Regions from separate parts of the Homo sapiens genome. Here regions 1 and 3 are each linked to region 2. Evidence: promoter capture Hi-C in human tissues and cell types (Jung and others, 2019). All regions are on one chromosome and are shown on one strand. Each heading gives the region's core, a stretch centred on a gene start or on the middle of the fragment in contact. The rest is flanking DNA. Distances are from core to core; before and after follow the strand shown.

Region 1 (4,477 bases), core at 1,317-3,816, 290 kb after region 2:
AATTTAAGAAGTCATAATCAAGTCTATACTCCAAACCAATTCAGAGGTAAAGATCTCACAGCATTTTTTAGAACAAGCTGGAGTATAAAATGTGAAACCAAATTTAAGCCACAGGAGGAATCTACATCAGCACTACAGAAATGTAATACAAAAATGTATATGAAGGCTACACATGAATTTTAAAATTTCCAGTACTGACATTTAAAAAGTAAAAACAGGTGATACTAATTTTAGTATCTACCCCAATACATCTAAAAAATTATCATTTTCATATGTAATCTATATAAAAAATTAATGAGATATTTTACATTTCTTTTCCCATACCAAGTCTGAAAACCTGGTGTGTATTTTATATGTAAAACACATCTCAGTTTGGACTAGCCACATTACAAATGCTCAATAACCACATGTGGCTAGTGGATGCCATACTCGAGAGTGCTAATGTCCATATTCAATTTGACAAATATTTACTTAACAAAATTACAGATTATATGTGAAAGATTTTCCAGGTCAAACTGTAAATTCTCCAATGCCAAATATTTACTGTAAAGTTACTACATTTAGAGGGCTAGTAAAAAATAATAATCAACTTTAAAATCAGTCAGTGGAAAACTGAGGTTCATATAGGGACAGTCTCCAAATTAAAAAAGCATGGGACATTTAGGGCCGGGCGCGGTGGCTCATGCCTGTAATCCCAGCACTTTGGGAGGCAGAGGCAGGTGGATCACAAGGTCAGGAGATTGAGACCATCCTGGCTAACACGGTGAAACCCCATCTCTGCTAAAAATACAAAAAATTAGCCGGGCGTGGTGGCAGGCGCCTGTAGTCCCAGCTACTCTGAAGGCTGAGGCAGGAGAATGGCATGAACCCGGGTGGCGGAGCTTGCAGTGAGCCGAGATCGCGCCACCGCACTCCAGCCTGGGTGACAGAGCGAGACTCCATCTCAAAAACAAAAACAAAAAAAAGCATGGGACATTTAAAAAATAATTCACTTGGGGGTCAGTTGTTTGGAGCTTGAAATGTATGATAAAATAATAAATCTATAATAGTTAATGTCCTAGATCAGGGGTTGGTAAACTATGTGCAAATAAAGTTTCAATGGAGGCTGGGTGTGGTGGCTCATGCCTATAATCCCGGCCCTTTCAGCGGGGGGACAAAGGAGGAGGATTCATTGAGACCAGGAGTTTGAGACCAGCTTGGGCAGCATAGCAAGATCTTGTCTCTACTAATTTAAAGAATTGGCCAGGTGTGGTGGCACGCACCTGTGGTCCCAGCTAATCAAGGAGGCTGAGGCAGTAAGATTGCTTGAGCCCAGGAGTTTGAGACTGCAATGAGCTATCATCAGGCCACTGTACTCCGGCCTGGGCAACAGGCTGTAAAGTTATTACATTTCTAGTTATTACATTGAAAAAAATTTCAATCTAATACAGTCATGCCCATTCATTTACCACTTTTTTTGTTTTTTTGAGACAGGGTCTTACTCTGTTACCCAGGCTAGAATGCACTGGTACAATCAATCATGGCTTACTGCAGTCTCGAACTCTTGGACTCAAGCGATCCTACCATCTCAGCCTCCTGAGTAGCTGGAACTACAGGCATATGCCATGATGTCTGGCTAACTTTAGTATTTGTTTGTAGAGATGGAGTATTGCTATGTTGCCCAGACTGGTTTTGAACTCTTGGCCTCAAGTAATCCTCCAGCCTTGGCCTCCTGAAGTGCTGAGATTACAGGTATAAGCCACTGTGCCTGACCCATTTACTGCTTTTGTGCCACAACAGCAGAGCTGAGTAGTTGCAATAGAAATCACGTGGTCCACAAAGTCTAAACCTTTGAGAGAAAGTCTGCCAAGCCATCCATAAAAATTACATCATCTATATTATACTTGAATTTCAAGGAAAGCCATGAGGTAGAGAAGAGAGGAAAATACATTTTCTTATACCTTTCCTAGGCATCAACCTACCCTTAGGCAAACTTTTGAAATAGGCAAAATCTGTCTTAAACATAAATCCACTTCCCTTCCTCATAGATCCTTTCAGTACACTGATGCTGCTCCACATTCATCTCCATTTTCTACATGTCATGGCAAAAACTCCCAGCTCTCTATGGACCCATTATTTGGAACATATATGTTTTAGTAAATAATTTTATAAATTTGTCTTCTCTTCCTCCCACCATCAAGAACAGCAGTTTTCAACTTCTTGGTCTCAGGGCTTCTTTATAATCATGGTAGTTTGTAAAGGTTAGCTGCAATGTAGAATCTGAAACCATATAAACTTTTATACTCGTTACATTAAAATCTGTGATTCCATCTTGCATTTTAAATGAATCTTATACTGGTAAATGATCTTGTAACATCACGCACTAGCTATTCACAAAACATTGGTTCACTGAGTTAGGCAGATCTCTCGTCATTGACATATTTCACTATACATAATCAAAAAACTTTATTCATTAATATCAATACTGACCCTCATCAGAAAACTAAGTACTGGGATACTGTCAAACTCATGATAGAGACAGATGATAGATACAAGTCCTTTTTATTTTTATTTTAGATGGAGTTTCGCTCTCGTGGCCTAGGCTGGGTGCAATGGTGTCATCTCAGCTCACTGCAACCTCTGCCTCCCAGGTTCAAGCCATTCTCCTGCCTCAGCCTCCCAAGTAGCTGGGATTACAGGCATGTGCCACTAGACATGGCTAATTTTTTTTTTTTTTATTTAGTAGAGACGGAGTTTCACCATGTTGGTCAGGCTGGTCTCAAACTCCTGACCTCAGGTGATCCACCTGCCTTGGCCTGCCAAAGTACTGGGATTACAGGCATGCGCCACCATGCCTGGAAGCTTTATTTATTTATTTATTTATTTATTTTGAGACAGGTCTCGCTCTGTCACCCAGGCTGGAGTGCAGTGGCGTGGTCTCGGCTCACTGCAACCTCCACCTCCCGGATTCAAGCGATTCTCCCACCTTACCCTCCCGAGTAACTCGGTTTACAGGTGTAAGCCATCGTTCCCAGCTAATTTTTGTATTTTTTGTAGTGATGGGGTTTCACCATGTTGCTCAGGCTGGTCTCAAACTCCTGGGCTCAAAGAGTAGTAGTCCCAGCTACTAGGAGGCTCAGGTGTAGGGATCACCTGAGCCCAGGGAGGATGAGGCTGCAGCAAGCCATGATCACACCACTGCACTCCAGCCTGGGCAACAGAGTAAGACCCTGTCTCAAAAAAAAAAAAAACCAAAAAAACCAAAAAAACAAAAAACAAACAAACAAAAAACATGGTGGTGCATGCCTGTAGTCCTAGCTTCTCTGGAGGCTGAGGAGAGAAGATCGCTCGAGCCCAGGAATTTGAGGCCGCAGTGAGCTCTGATCACGCCACTGCACTCTAGTTTGAATGACAGGGACTCTGTCTTCAAAAATAAATAAATAAATAGAGAGTCCAGAAACTACTAGTATCATCTGGTGCCACTGCCTTGATTCATACCAGGGAGTTTTACCTACCATTGTTTTCAGTGCAAATGTCAACATAGTACAAAAGTCAAATAATGTCTTAGTATTATGAAAATAATTTTGACCTTGCTTTGTACACCATTCCTCTAGACCATAAGCATCTGAGTATAAGAACCAGTCTCATTTATTTCTGCTATCAGCAGCATTTGGCATACTTCCTGAAATAAAGTAGGTACTCAATAAATGCTTCTTAATAAAGCACTTGATGCTCCAGAATTGCCTACAGTTACGAGCCCCTAACAATAAAAATTTCTGGCCAGGCAAAGTGGCTGACATGTGTAATCCTAACACTTTGGGAGGCCAAGGCAGGTGGATCACTTGAGGTCAGGAGTTCAAGACCAGCTAGGGCAACATGGCAAAACCTTGTCTCTACAAAAAATGCAAAAACTAGCTGGGCGTGGTGGCATGTACCTGTAGCCCCAGCTACTTGGGGGGCACTGAGGCAGGAGGATTGTTTGAGCCCAGGAGGTTGAGGCTACAGTGAGCCATGATTGCACCACTACACTCCAGCCTGGGTAACAGAGTCAGACTGTCTCTTAAAAAAAAAAAAAAAAAAAAAAAAGGAGGCCAGGCACAGTGACTCATGGTTGTAGTCCCAGCACTTTGGGAGGCTAAGGCAGGCAGATCACTAGGTCAAGAGATAGAGACCATCCTGGCCAACATGGTGAAACCCCATCTCAACTAAAAATACAAAAAAAAATTAGCTGGGCGTGGTGGCACACACCTGTAATCCCAGCTACTTGGGAGGCTGAGGCAGGAGAATTGCTTGAACCTGGCAGGCAGAGGTTGCAGTGAGCAGAGATCATGCCATTGCACTTCAGCCTGAGTGACAGAGGGAGAGTCAAAAAAAAAAAAAGAAAATATTCAAACAATGTGGGGGAAAAATGATTGTAGAACTAGTGGGCATCTAATGCTCTAAAAAATTTTTTTTGTTTGTTTTTTTTTAAAGACAGGGTCTCACCCTCTCCCCCAGT
Region 2 (4,461 bases), core at 1,175-3,674:
GATTATGTATATATTTTACTGGAGAACTAAGCATGGAAGGACCCATAAAAAGGGAAATATTCCATACAGAGCTACTAATCTAATAGACCAAAAAAAAAAGGGGGGGCCAAAGAATCAAACAAGCATCTAATAACATTCACTGAGCATTTACTATGTGGCAGGCACACGTTAAGCACTCTACATACATTGCCTTATTTAATTCTCAAAACCACCATTTAAGGAAGAATTATTATGAGCCCAACTTTGGAAAGAGAAACTAAGGCTAAGGTTACATACCTGGCAAGTGCCCAGATCAGGTAGTATGGAGCAGGGCAGAGATTTGAATCCATGTATGACTCCAGGGCCTGAACTCTTCACTATACTGCTTGCTCATACTACTCTTTCACTTTCATTTTCCTAACAATGTCTAATTAATGCCCTGAATAGCAGAGGGAGTGTGTTATTCACAGAGATTAAAATCATTCTGTCTAGGCTGGTGCTAGGCCCGGTGCTCACGCCTGTAATCCCAGCACTTTGGGAGGCCGAGGTGGGTGGATCACCTGAGGTTGGGAGTTCGAGATCAACATGGAGAAACCTCGTCTCTACTAAAAATACAAAATTAGCCAGGCGTGGTGGCGCATGCCTGTAATCCCAGTACTTGGGAGGCTGAGGCAGAATTGCTTGAACCCGGGAGGCGGAGATTGCGGGGAGCCGAGATCGCGCCATTGCACTCCAGCCTAGGCAACAAGAGTGAAGCTCTGTCTCAAAAAAATAAAAATAAATAAAAAATCATTCTGTCTAGATAATGAACTTGTTTTCAGATAGATGTTCTCTTCCAAATCTTTTAAAACCATCACAATGACACTGTGTTCAGCCTTTCCACTCACCAAATCTGGGAAGCATTAACGATTATGCTTTATGGCTGGACTTCACAATACAGTATATAGAAACAAAGTAAAGGTCTCAGAGTGACTTTTCCTGTTCACATATTAAAAATCACGAATGGAACGCTGAAAGCAGTAGTCTAATATACGAAAATTATTTAAAACTCAGGAATTTAATACAATAAATGAAAATTCTTTGAGGATACAGTTATCTCTTTGTTCTATCTTTAATCATGTTTTTCAATTGGGGATAAATTAAAAGGGCTACTGAATTATCCAACAAGATGTTTCTTGCTACATTATATACACTATGCAGTAATACACTGAGCAGTTTCATTCCAAGTTATCTTTAACTCTATTTCTAAAATTTACAGGTGAAGAGAACCTCATTTACAGACCAACTCTCTCCTTATGATTCCAAGCACAGATGATTATATTACTGTGCAAGACACGGAGCCACTAAACTCATTCAAAAATAAAACCATCACGGACCAGATGTAAATCAAGCCCTCCTGACACTAAATTCTCTATGGTAAGAGATCAAGGGTCTGGCTTATAATCATAACCTAAACCTTGACACCGTTTCAGCGCAATACATTACTATTCCGAGTAACTGATAGTTTCTTTCCACTACAGGTGTTCTTCAGTAAACTAGTACACAGTACCTCATCTACAACTCAGAATCGGCATTTAAATTACAGGAGCATTCAAACAGATGTGGGTAAAAAGGGGATGCCAATCTCAAGAGCAGCTCTAGAATTGAGTCACTCATTCTATCAGATTCCCAAAGATGTCTTGAACTCTGTAGATATTTGTAAATTGGCACTTTTAATTTTTTTTATCCGTTTGTTTAACGTATCTGTCACTCTAAGCTGTGAGCTTCAGTATAGAAGAGGGTGTAACATTCACATTTGTATCTCCTAGGACTAGCAGTGTCTGGTATATAGCAGGCTTCGAGTGCCTGTGTGGAATTAACCACAGAAGTCCATGCTGCAAACAAAGGAAAACGGAGAGGAGGCATTTTAGTTGAGACGTTAAGGAATCAATTACCCTTTAGAAACAGACCTTGTGCCTGGCCAGGACAGAATACAATAACTGAAGGGGCCTCACGAAGCCGGAGTCAGGCATTACAGCCCTATCTTCCTTAACTCTCCATTGGGTCTACGCAGTGTGGCCGCTCGCCCTGCAGAGACAGGCCTTCAGGCCCCCGATCCCTGCGTCCAGACGGGGGTGCAAACACCACAGAGCTCAATCCAGCTTCAGCCGTTCTCCCTTCCCAGCTCCAGCCCAGCTTCGGCCCCAGACTAAACCCGGGCCGCGTCTGCTCGCTCCAGGCACGTACCATGACAGGGCAATTCAGGTGGCCCACAGGCGAACCTGGTTCACTCACCTACTTGGTAGAGCCGACCCTCGGGTGAAAAAATGGTAATGTGGCGGTCAAAACCGGCGCTGGAACCACGGGACATGTTGGTAGAAGCACTACTTTAAACACAATCCCTGGGCCCCGTAGCTCCCGCACCAGGCACACAAGCACCTCCCGGAAGTTGCAGCGACTGCTTCCGGGGTACCAGCCGCGTTTCTTCCGCTCTTGCATGCCGAACTCACGGCTCTGGAGCCAGTTCGAGCACTGAGCTCTGAGGCCCCGCCCCCTAAGGGGGTGGTGGAGTGAGGGCGGGAGGCCTTTGAAGGTATGCGCCTGCGCCAAGCAGGCCTCTTGAGTGGATAGACGTGAAACTTGGGTCGTGGCGCTTTCAGGCTTTCATCTGGAGAATGAATTGACTATAGCAAGGACGAAAAGGCTTCCTGGGGGCCCAGAATAGCGATTTGCCTATCAGTGTGACCTAAATAGAACGTGTAATTAACAAGTCTCTTACATGCATCCTGTGTCTGGTCAGACTGCTGGCTTGCCTTCTTCCTAACCTCTTTTATCCTCCACTTTCATTCCTATTACGGGGGAAACAGGTTGCAGCTGCAGCTGCAGCCGTTAAATTTAGGCACTGAAGGAAGCGGGTTCAAGCAGCCGCTGGAAAGAACATTATTTTCTGACAGCCAGGCAAGATCTTCTTTTGGCCAGCAGCCCCGACAATTTTTAGTCTTTTTTTTTTTTTTTTTTTTTTTTGAGACAGAGTTTCGCCCTTGTTGCCCAGGCTGGAGTGCAATGGCGCGATCTCGGCTGACTGCAACCTCCCCCTCCTGAGTTCAAGCGATTCTCCTGCCTCATCCTCCCGAGTAGCTGGGATTATAGGCGTGTGCCACCAGGACCGGCTAATTTTGTATTTTTAGTAGAGGCGGGGTTTCGCCATGTTGGTCAGGCAGCTCTCGAACTCCTGAGCCCAAGTGATCCACCTTCCTCGGCCTCCCAGAGTGCTGGGATTACAGGCTTGAGCCACAGTGCCCAGGCAATTTTTAGTCTTGAAAGCGGAGGCCGGGCGCGGTGGCTCACGCCTGTAATCCCAGCACTTTGGGAGACCAAGGCGGGCGGATCACGAGGTCAGGAGATTGAGACCATCCTGGCTAACACGGTGAAACCCCGTCTCTACTAAAAAATACAAAAAAAATTAGCCAGGCGTGGTGGCGGGCGCCTGTAGTCCCATATACTTGGGAGGCTGAGGCAGGAGAACGGCGTGAACCGGAGAGGCGGAGCTTGCAGTGAGCCGAGATCATGCCACTGCACTCCAGCCTGGGCGACAGAGCGAGACTCCGTCTCAAAAAAAAAAAAAAAGAAAGAAAGCCTAACTCCAGCCTGGCCAACATAGGAAGGCCCCGTCTCTACAAAAAATAAAATTAGCTGTGCGTGGTGGCGCGCGCCAGTAGTCCCAGCTACTCGGGGGGCTAAGGTGGGAGGATGGCTTGAGCCCAGGAGATCCAGGTTGCAGTGAGCTATGATCACGCCACTGCACTCCAGCCTGGGCGACAGAGGAAGATCTATCTAAATAAAAAAAAAAAAATGTGGAACTGAGGTTGAAATACGAGTAATGGGGAATGAGGTTAAGCACCCTTGATTAATAATGAACTAGAGCTGAGGGGATGGGGCTTAGAGCAGCTAGTGTTGCATGGATTAATGAGAGTAATTCCAAGCTGGCGAGGTAGCTCCGGGAGAAGAGCAGGTGGCTTTTCAAATCGCAAATTTGTGCCTATTTTGACTTTCCCCAAGGCACACTCCCATTTAATGAATACAAAATGCAAAACATAATGTTAGGATAGTTGTTTTTCTCCCCAGATAAAGATGGTTTGTGTACAAGGAAGGCAAGATACACTAATGTTTGTGGCACTGTAATGCCTGCTGTAATACTGAAGTAGGGATTCTTACTCCTTTAATGTATTTCCTAAACTAACTTTCTATTTTAAAGAAAAAATGTTCTAAGACCTTCATAAGGGAATTCCAATTTCTCAAGTGTTTTTAAAAATTAATTTCTATTTTATTAATCTAAAAAATCCCAAACTGAAACATGGTTAAGAAAACGGTAAATGCATACAGCATCTCTGGCACAAAGGGTACTTTCCAGCACTGGCTAGTTCCCAAGTGGACTGATAAAAGTTTTCCCTTGCTTCTGGTTCAGGTCCCTACTCTCAGGACCAACTCCTCTTGACCTTTTGA
Region 3 (4,211 bases), core at 694-3,193, 390 kb before region 2:
CTTTCAGCAGTAAGGTTGGTTTTGATTTTATTTGTTTTAACATGGTTTTGTTAGCATGATTAACAACGCTGTATAATGCATCTTGCATTGAGCCATTAATGCCACCTGAGGGCAGTATTTGACAGCTTAGCAAAGCCTGGCCAGTAATATAAAGATAATGGTATTTCACAGTGAGCTTCTGACCAGTGTGTTTTTTTAATCTGAAATACTTTGTAGTTTATTAGGAATATAAACAGTGCTCATTTTCCTTTCATTGCAGAGAAATCAACTTTTCAATAGCATAGTAGTGACATAGATACCATATTATTTTCTATAAGTTAGTTTCCCAAGTCTAAAACTTTCTTGTTAATGTAAATGGTAAAAATAATAATAATGTAGTGATAAAAAAATCAAAATAACTATTTTGGGTTTTTTTGGTAAGAAAAACATTTGTGGAAGTCAACTTTTTATTCTTAAAGCATTAAAATTAGATTTTATAGTGGATAGAAACAGCAGTATATCAAAACCATAGAATTTGTATTTATAAATACTCAAATGCATTTGTATCCCACTGAGTTTTGCATAGATTCAAAGGATGTATTCCCTGCAAACGTTCTTTGGGGGAAATACGGAATTATAAATTGTTAAGGCTCTAAAAAGAAACATTGAGTCAGGAAAAAAGATAAATATACCAGTTTCTTTATAGGCAATATTAACCTAACTTCAGCTAGTGCTTATCTATAAGCTTTCTTGCTGTTTAAAGTTACACTGAAGATTGACTAACATCTGCTTAGTTAAATAAAGTAAATATCAATTTACTAATTCTTAAAATTAAATCTGAAAGAAGGGAAATTATTCATAAATGCATGTTTGGCAAATAATTGGCAAAGGTACTTTGTTTTGGGTTGTTGTTTGTTTCAAAGTTAGAAAATGCAGTTAAGTTTTTCCTCACTATATATAGTTATTTATTTATTTTTAGTCAATAAAGAGGACATGAGCCAAAAACTGCCTCCTCTTAATAGTGATATTGGCGGCAGCAGTGCTAATGTTCCTGATCTGATGGATGAGTTTATAGCAGAACGACTTCGAAGTGGTAATGCCTCGGTAAGTTTTATTTTATATATTTGGTTTTATAGAGGAGGGTAGAAAAACTAACAGATATATACCTATGTACATATATGTCAATTTATATATGGGAATTTTTATTCAAAATAACCTTTCCTCAAAATATAACCCTTTTTATGAATTAAGATTTTTGAATTACATTTTTATAACATTTTTTATCTAAAGACATAAACAGCCTCATAATTTTCACCAGGGTGAAAGATCAGACAGGTACCTGTGCACAAATACACAGGTATAAGCAACTACCTTCCTAGTCTCCCCTTTTTTTGTCTTTGCTCGTAGGTTACCCTGGTGCCAGCTGCAAGCCCTCAATGGGAAAGATAGCAATGGAGGTCTTCTGCCCCAGCTCCCGTAGTTATATAAATAAATAAATATAATCTAATATATAATTTAAAATAAAAATACATATATAATTTTTATTTTTGTCTCAAGATCTGCTTGTGAACCAGCTCCCATAGTTTTGCTAGCACAAATACTGCTTAACCATTTTAGATAACTTTGGAAGAGACTTAAAAGTTATCTTTATCTTGAATGTTAGGAGTATGGCAACATGAAAGCAGAAGCTCTTTTATCCCTAATAATGCTTAATTGTTAGGGAAGGATAAATATATATGGAACTAGTTTCTTTTGAGACAGAGTGTCGCTTTGTCGCCCAGGGTGGAGTGCAGTGCTCACTGCAGCCTCCGTCTCCCGGGTTCCAGCAATCCTCCTGCCTGAGCCCCCTGAGTAGCTAGGATTACAGGTGCACACCACCATGCCTGGATAATTGTTCTATTTTTAGTAGAGACAGGGTTTCACCATGTTGGCCAGACTGGTCTCGAACTCCTGACCTCAGGTGATCTGCCCACCTCAGCCTCCCAAAGTGCTGGGATTACCAGAGTGAGCCACTGTGCTGGACCTGGAATTGCTTTTTTTAAACTGTCATATTTCATTTGGGTTTGACTTCTCTATAACTCCATTATATACCCCGCCCCTTTCTTTTTAGGCTTACTTTTTTCCCTTGAGTGGATAAAAATCATTGAATGACATCTTTGCTGTCATTCTTTCCACTCTTCCACTGTCTTTTTTATTTGCTGCTTTTTTTCCACTAAATACTCTTTCTGCTGTTTTAATTTATATTCACTGCATGGATCCTGCTGAGGCTTAAGAGTCACAGGCCCAGCATCATGTGATATTTGGGTCTTTAGGCAGACCAACAATAGGTCAGGCTCTAGCTCCATTCAGTTACATAGATTGTTTGGTGAGTGTGTTCTCCACTCCTACTTCAGCCTCTAAATCTCAGCATTTATTGTGATGGTTTGGAAATTAAAGGTTTCAGATGGTTAAAGAGAATAAAAGCTTTTTCTTAATGGTAAAATATTTCTTGAACGTTTAGACTATGACAAGAAGAGGAAGTAGTCCAGGCAGCCTGGAAATTCCCAAAGACCTCCCTGATATTCTAAACAAGCAGAACCAGATGCGCCCTATTGATGACCCAGGTGTGCCCTCAGAATGGACTTCTCCTGCCAGTGCAGGGAGCAGTGATCTTATCAGCTCAGATAGTCATTCGGATTCTTTCAGCGCTTTCCAATATGATGGCCGAAAATTTGACAGCAAGTATCTTTTCTATTTGAATACTATGTTTTATGTTGATTGTCTTCTGTTCAAGACTGACTTACGGATTATGTAGCCATCACCTTCCTCTCCAGTGTTACTTAGGCAGTGGCTCCCACGTTAGAAAAAAAAAAATTAGATATTTGGTCTTGCTATGTTGTCTGGGCTAGTCTTGAACTCCTGGCCTGAAGCAGTCCTCCTGCGTCAGCCTTCCGAGTAGCTGGGATTACAGGTGCAAGGCATCATTCTTGGCCCCACTTATTTTTATTTCAATTTTCAGTGAAATTTCAAAGGAAGTTTTAGGGAATCACCTTAAGTTGAAGCTACTTTATGTTGCCAAATTAAGAGCATTTAAAAAACAAAAAATGTGATCCCTTCTTAAAAGAAATGACATTTTTAAGACCAAAACTGTAGAAAGGAAAATAATTTAGGATAGACCTGTTACTAAAAAGCCAGTCATGATTATGAGTTGCCACTGTTTCACACACTCATATTTGAGAACCAAATATTTGGATTATGTTCAATGCTACAGTACCCAGAACTTCCTTTGAATAATTGCCCCTTGTTACAATAACATCAGTAATATTATTTGGTGCTATATTATTACCACTTAGTTATTCAGCTATAATTCTATATTGCACTTGGCAGTCAGTGAAGGGCACCAAATTTTTAAAAAAGAAGTCAAAACCTTGGGAACTAAGTTTGTGAAGAGCTGGGATATGCATTGGAGAATTACATGTTTCCTCCCTTCATGGCTTGTACACTATCCCGATCTACTTATAATCTTCAGAGTATTAAGATTATTTACACTTGTCTGAGTGATATGTAAACAGAATAGATGTACGGGGAATGTTTATGTTTGATCATTTTGCTGATTTAGCTCTCGTAAATATTTTTACTTTGTAATTGGGACTCATATAATAACATTTCTTCTTCCTATAGATTTTGGCTTTGGAACCGACACTGGGGTTACGTCCTCTGCTGATGTGGATTCAGGTTCTGGCCATCATCAGAGTGCTGAAGAGCAGGAAGTGGCTAGTCTAACTACTCTTCATATAGATTCTGAAACAAGCAGTCTTAATCAGCAAGCTTTCTCTGCTGAAGTTGCAACTATTACTGGTAAAGTTATTCATGGGAATGTGTTTCTTAAATGTATTTTTTAAGCCTTCAAAGAATTTGATTAAAATTTTGAGAGATTTTAAGTATTACTTATTACTATTTAAGTATATTTTTTCATTCATCTTTATGTAACAATGAAGGGGAGAAAAGACATTAGTTTCTTGACCTGAGGTCCACTGGGTTAAGCTTCAGAGGACTCTGTGAACTTGTAGTATTTTATGCAATATTTTGTATATATATGCACTAGAACATTTTCTGCAGGATTAAAAAAAAATTTTAATGGGAACATAATAGATGTATATGTATATGGAGTACATGAGATAGTTGGAGTGATTTTTAAAATAAATAAAAAAGTTAAAAGTAGTGGACTGTCTTTGTCATTCAGAGTTAGCCTA

The links. Contacts are between HindIII fragments. The study calls those that stand out against the background at their distance.
Region 1: a fragment that was not itself captured here is called in contact with the fragment with the promoter of PSMA6 in region 2 in 1 of the 25 tissues and cell types used here (mesendoderm cells).
Region 3: a contact is called between a fragment that was not itself captured here and the fragment with the promoter of PSMA6 in region 2, in 1 of the 25 tissues and cell types used here (dorsolateral prefrontal cortex).

Annotation. Positions count from the first base shown.
Region 1 is chr14:35,002,326-35,006,802 of GRCh38, reverse strand. The region is part of intron 4 of SRP54 (signal recognition particle 54); the gene reads right to left. Among named protein-coding and RNA genes, the nearest start is that of SRP54, 22 kb to the right of the region's middle. The HindIII fragment of the contact is 3,646 bases long and covers 744-4,389 here.
Region 2 is chr14:35,290,345-35,294,805 of GRCh38, reverse strand. It overlaps PSMA6 (proteasome 20S subunit alpha 6), which reads right to left and starts at 2,424. Exons shown (of 7, transcript NM_002791.3): 1 at 2,254-2,424. The coding sequence starts at 2,329. All of the region lies in intron 9 of PRORP-PSMA6 (PRORP-PSMA6 readthrough), which reads right to left. RefSeq lists enhancers at 328-507, 1,961-2,020, 2,101-2,220, 2,341-2,420, 2,137-2,723. The HindIII fragment of the contact is 27,585 bases long and covers 1-4,461 here.
Region 3 is chr14:35,683,414-35,687,624 of GRCh38, reverse strand. It overlaps RALGAPA1 (Ral GTPase activating protein catalytic subunit alpha 1), which reads left to right. Exons shown (of 42, transcript NM_001346249.2): 19 at 959-1,083; 20 at 2,480-2,696; 21 at 3,640-3,816. Among named protein-coding and RNA genes, the nearest start is that of SNORA101B, 77 kb to the left of the region's middle. The HindIII fragment of the contact is 3,903 bases long and covers 1-3,894 here.